Linked DNA regions of Homo sapiens: region 1 is linked to region 2. Evidence: promoter capture Hi-C in 16 types of primary human blood cells and fetal thymus (Javierre and others, 2016). All regions are on one chromosome and are shown on one strand. The core of a region is centred on a gene start or on the middle of the fragment in contact, and the rest is flanking DNA. Distances in the headings are between cores, read along the strand shown.

Evidence for each region. Contacts are between HindIII fragments. The CHiCAGO score rates a contact against its expected background, and 5 or more counts as called.
Region 1: a contact is called between a fragment that was not itself captured here and the fragment with the promoter of NEUROD4 in region 2, in 4 of 17 cell types (neutrophils, M0 macrophages, M2 macrophages and 1 more). The highest score is 6.8, in neutrophils.

The regions. Positions count from the first base shown.
Region 1 is chr12:55,625,707-55,628,856 of GRCh38, reverse strand. No RefSeq gene overlaps it. Among named protein-coding and RNA genes, the nearest start is that of OR10P1, 9.6 kb to the left of the region's middle. The HindIII fragment of the contact is 3,558 bases long and covers 1-3,150 here.
Region 2 is chr12:55,018,526-55,021,271 of GRCh38, reverse strand. It overlaps NEUROD4 (neuronal differentiation 4), which reads right to left and starts at 1,298. Exons shown (of 2, transcript NM_021191.3): 1 at 959-1,298. The HindIII fragment of the contact is 8,784 bases long and covers 1-2,053 here.

The DNA of each region.
Region 1 (3,150 bases), core at 430-2,929, 610 kb before region 2:
ATCCATTATTTGCAATTGAACTCTGACATATACTGACACAGAGTTTAGTACCAGAAATTGTTGCAAGGGTGGGAATCTGGGAATGATCATTTGATCTCATTGGGTTTAAAGACAATGAGGATTCAGTACTATTGGAGGATGGAAGACTGGTAATCTTTGGTTTTCAGCCTTCCGATGTGAAACAGTTACAGAAATAACTACCTATCATCATCTGAAGTGCCGCTGAATGGTGATTCCTGAGCATGGTATGGGTACAAGGAGTTAAATGACAGTGAGTTTGGTTGCTGTTCATAACTGCTCTGGCAGCTTAAAGAAAGAAACTGTCAGGCTTAGGTCTTTTATATTTTCAGCTAAACACATAAAACTTGTAGCTTTGCCAGGGGCCCAGAGTAAGAGAAGGATATTGGCTGGTCCAGGCTGCAATACAGCTAATTCTGTTGCTGGCTTTTATGACTAAGGGAATCTGAAGGTGTGAGAAGTGCCATGGCTGAATTGGTGCTGTTTGGAGCCTGTGAAAAGCCCCATTCACAGAAGAGTTGTAGTGGAGGCCCCAAGGATTCAGAGAAAGTCCACGCCCTCTTCACCAAGTAACTATTATACTTTTGAGAAATATCTCCTTGTTTGTTATTTATGTATTTTTGAGACAGGGTCTCACTTTGTCATCCAGGCTGGAGTGCAGTGACACAATCAGGACTCATTGCAGCCTCGACCTCCTGGGCTCAAGCAATCCTTCTGTCTCAGCCCCCCTGAGTAGCTGGGACTACAGGTGTGCGCCAGCACGCCTGGCTAAGTTTTAAAACTTTTTTAGTAGCAATGAGGTTTCACTATGTTCCCCAGGCTGGTCTCAAATTCTTGAGCTCAAGTGATCCTCCTGCCTTGGCCTCCCAAAGTGCTGGGATTACAAGCACAAGCCACTGCTCTGAGCCATTGCTTGTTATTTGATCTCTGGCAGAGGATAAACACCTGACCCTGGGATACCAGGTGACTCTGCAACCTGAGCTGCCCTTTATGACCTGGGTGTTTCCCAATTGATAAAGCTGCATGGTCAGGCCCAGAAGCACCCCATCTTCAAGTGAAGGGGCATACATGAGATCAGACTTGAAGAAGTCCTGAAGTCACAAGGACATTCCACCAGTTCATGGTCCACACTCCCGTCATGTCTATTCTTGACACACTAATGTCCTTTCTTCCTATGGCCTCATGTAGTGTTCCTCATGACTGGTTGATGGAGGAGGAAAAATATTTGGGCCCAGCTTTACAGAGAACTTTGCACAACTCTGCTGGGACTAACTAGATATGGACATCTATGGCATTATAGCCCCAGTAATGGGGGTTGACCCTGAGGAAAAAAGGGGTGACCTGAGGAAGAGTGGAGAAGAAAAATGCCTGCTGAGCAGAATTTTGATAGTACAACTTAAAGAGTCTGCTTTTCCTGGAAGAAGGATGGCCTGAGATATGGATTTACATTGATCCATGAGCAGCAGCTAATGGTTTGTTTGGCAGGAGGTTTAGGAAGTAGAAGGAACAATACAGGAGAATGAGTGACAAGGCATTCTGGGGATCATCATCATCACCATCATCATCATCACTAACACTTCTGTAATGCTCACTCTGTGTCAGATATTGTTCTAAGCACTTTTTATATATTAACTTACTGAATCCTCCCAAAACACTGTGGGGTAGTTTCAACTATTATGCTGACTTTACTGAAGAGGAATCTGAGGCATAGCGTGGTTAGGCACTTGAACAAGACCATACAGCTAGTAAATGGCTGAGCTGGCATTTGAATCCAGGTGATCTGGCTGCAGAGTTCATGCTCTCAACCATCTTACTATTCTATGAATGAGCTTTTGAAAATGGGTCCAGACTGCGAGACTATTTGTGAATATGTGGGACAATGGTGAGACAATGTGGATGCTCACGAAAGGTCTCTCACTACAGAAGATACTGTTAATACTTAGGGATCAAGATGACCCAGCTGGTAGATGTCAGTCAGCCTTCTCCAGCATCTCCAGTGCTTATTCAAGGGATCACAATCAAAATGTCCATGGCGGAAGGGATGAAGGTTAGGCACAGGCTTACCGACAATGGTTCCCCTCACCAAGGCTGGTCTGGCTATGCCATGGCTGAGTGTGTAACTTGCCAGTAACAATAGCTTGGTGTAGTAGGCAGCCTCTAAGATAGTTCTCCATGAAACTCATCTTCTGATACTCATGCATTTGTGTAATTCTCTCCCTTTTAGTGTAGGTTGGAACCAGTGACCTGCTTTTAATGAAGGGAACATGGCAAAAGTGATGGGATATCTGACATTATGTTGCAAAAAGACTTGGCTTTCATCTTGGGTCCTGTCTGGTTCTCCTCTGCCTCTGTCTCTGTCTTTCTCTTCCCCCTTCTCACAAGTTGCCATATTGAGGACACTCGGCAGCCTGTGGAGAGACTCACATGAGGAAGAGCCAAAGCCTGCCAGCAACCATGTGAGTGAACCTGGAAATAGATCTGAGGCCTGCCAACAGGCACATGAATGAGTTTAGAAGTGGATTTTCCAACCTCAGTTGTCCCTTAAGTGACTGCACCCTCGGTGACAGCTTGACTCCATCCTCGTGAGAGACCCTGAGCGAGAGGCACCCAGCTCATTGCTCTCTCCTGGATTCTTGACCAACTCAAACTGTGAGATGATAATTGTCTGTGGTTTTAGGCAGGGAAGTTTTGTAGTAATTTGTTACATAGCAATGGGTAACTAATATGCCTGGGGATAGTTTGATTACATTGTACCCCTTGCCTGAAGGAGGCAATGCTCTGCACTCACTGGGATAATCACTTACTCTGGGCATGGATTTATCTTTCCTGTCTGCCTGCATCTGCAAGTGTCACCATCCACGGACTTACTGAATGCTGCATTTGTTGTCATGATATTTCACATAATATTGCATCTAATCAAGGAAAAAATATATAGCAAAACAAGTGAGACAATGTGCCAATGCTCACAGGACTCATTGGGATTACCCTGTAACTTCATTCCCCAGAACCACCTGGCCTTTTTTGAACAATAGAATGGCCAATTAAAAACTCAAATACAGCACCAGTTGGGAGAAAAAACCTTGAAAAGTTTGAGTGATCTCTTATAGGTGAGACATAGGCTCTGAACCCCAG
Region 2 (2,746 bases), core at 49-2,548:
TGTACTGCTTGGAAAAAGCCAGTAGTTTGCTCTATGCTCTTCTTTTCTACTCTACTATTTTCCCCTTTATTAATATATGTGCACATGTATGTACATGCATGCACATACACACACATTTTGTCCAGCAAAGCCATGTAATACTTCAGGTGCCATTGCCTCAGATCTTAATAGTTAACAGAAGTTATTCAGTCCCTTATTTTTCCCTGCATGTTCTTCAGCATTTCACCTCTGCTTCCTCTGTCAAAAAAATGGGGGTGGGTATTTTACATTTAATTAGTATTTTCTGAGTATACTTTTTTTGCGGGCAAATGATGAGTGTGAAGCAGAGAAAGGAAAAATATACTTGGACAATCTTTTTCTTCTAATTTCCCATCTGAAAGAGCTGAGGAAAAGGAAATTTCCCCCACCCTGTGCCAACTATTCAAGCATTTTTAGTAAACAAAATAGTTAATGGTGAGAATCTACCCCGAGGATTTTCCACAATCTTCTCTGATTCCTCATTCTGTTTTCCTTTCCCTGCCTCCCCCTCCGTCCTTGCATAGCCCTAAAATGCTGTGAGCAGAGTGGTGGATTGGGTCAATTCTTCCAACCTACTTGCTGGGCCACCTTGGAAAAGCAGTTAAACTTTTCGACATTTTCACCACTAACAAAATGAAAGAGTGGCTTTGACAGGAATTGGGGGAGATCATCTGTATTCTTCACTTTATTAAAATGATTGTGAGTGTCTATGTGTTTCACTTTGGGTGGCAAGTGCTATAAAATTTAATAAAATTATTTAAAATGTTTATATTTGTCCCTAAGTGTTCCAACTCACTAGCTTCTACATTCCAAGTTTCCTAAATCTCACTTCCTCCTGCCTTACCCAGAAGAGACTTTCCTCACCCCAACTGCTCCTCTAGGTGAGTGGGAACTTCCCACAGAAACTTTAGCCCCCTTACCACCCCAACCACTGGCTCACCTCGGTCACTGGCCGTTCCTGGAGTGAACTCTGTGAATCTGCGTCTTAGAGGACAGTCAGAGAAGCCAAGTCTCCCTGACCATCCAGATGGTAGAAGAGACGCTTTCAGCGATCCATGTCAAACCCGGTTGTTACCTCTTAGAGATTCCACCGGGTCTGGTTTCTCTGCCTGCTCCTTATTCTACTCCTTCCTTGGAGTTCCGTATGCTCCTCAAGGACGCCTTCGGGCTGATCTCTCCGCTGCAGCCAGTTTAGTCGCTCTTCAGTACCTCCTCTCCCTGGTTAGCTCCCCGGAGAGGAGCTTTCAGGACCACAAGCCTCTGGGCAGCTCCTGCTCTCTGGCCGGAGCCTCTGACTTGCTGCAGTTTTGATTGCTCTCCCAGCTGACCAGGGAGGAGTGATGTTGCCCAGAGTCTAACTCCTCCCTTTTCCCCAGCCGAAAGACACGCCCACTTGAAAGGCTCCTCCGGCCAGGTCCAGTTTTGCCGCCCGTTTGTTTGTTTAAATAGAGATGGGGGTTGGTGGAAGGGGAGCAGGGGAGGAGAGTTGCTGAAGTTAAGGAGTAAAGAAAAAGAGGACTGGAAACCTTTGTGATTAAAAAGATAAGAAATGGGAGCGGAGTAGTGTGGACAGAATGGAGAAAGAAAATTGGGGATAGACTTGGAGAGAGAGCTAAAAAGGGCAGATGACGCTGCTGACCCACGTCTGAAAAGAATCAAAAGGTGAGAAAGATGCGTGTCAAGGACACAGCATCAGTGGCTGCTTCCTTACACATGTGGACTGGGGTCTTTGGCTTATAAACTTCAGCGTTCTAAAAGTAGAAGGAAGAAGTATGTCTCTCCCACCTTTTCAGCACGTCAAAGCTACTCTCATTAAAACTTTTAATTTGTGAATTTAGGTGAAGCTATATTTGTTGTGCTATTCTTTCAACTTTCTGATCACTTTAAATTTATAAAAACAAAAAGGAAATTAATAAAATCCTTCATTTTAAGGGCAGTTAGTTCCTTGAGTTACAAACTGAGATCTACTATTGTTTTTCAAAAATACATCATTAAGCATTCACGTAGAAAAAGTCCACCTGAGTAGTAATAAGCTTAGAAGAAGAGAAGGCTCATAATAATTCCTAAAACTCCTTTGGTATTAGGAGGTTGAATTAAATTGCTAGAAGACAGAAAGAAAACTACATCTGGAATAATTTAAGTATATAGATATTCATACTATCTTATTTAAAACTACACCAAGGAAAAATAAATGATTGTGAACTTAAGATACCAAAGATTTTCTAATCATCTTGTGTTTCCAAGAAGGAAAAAGAAAGGTGCTCAGATTAAGCAATTGGCTGAATGATCTTGAATAAGTCAACTTCACTCTGGGCATCAGTTTTCATATCTGTAAAATGAGTTTTTCCATCAGTAGCCTGATAGAGTTACGAATCCAAGTTCAACTTCTTTTAGAAATTGACTTGAAGGATAATTCCTCAGGCGTTTTGGCAAAAGGCAAAACATTTATACAATCTGAAAAGAAACCAGAGTATCCCCAGCTTTTTGAGAATCGCGTGGTCTAACAACATAACTAGCACATGCGTCAAACAGAAATGAAAAACTATTAATATGCCTGTGTGCAAGGAAAACTGTAGAGGGCTGAAACAAAAGATAGTTTCACTGCTCATAAAGTTGAAAAGAGTATCTTAAGTTTGAAAATAGTTATTTTTAATTCTGATATGTGTCATATGACTCTTGTTTTTCACAGAAAACAAGAAAATAAAAATTAACACTTTTTTCAGTTTTC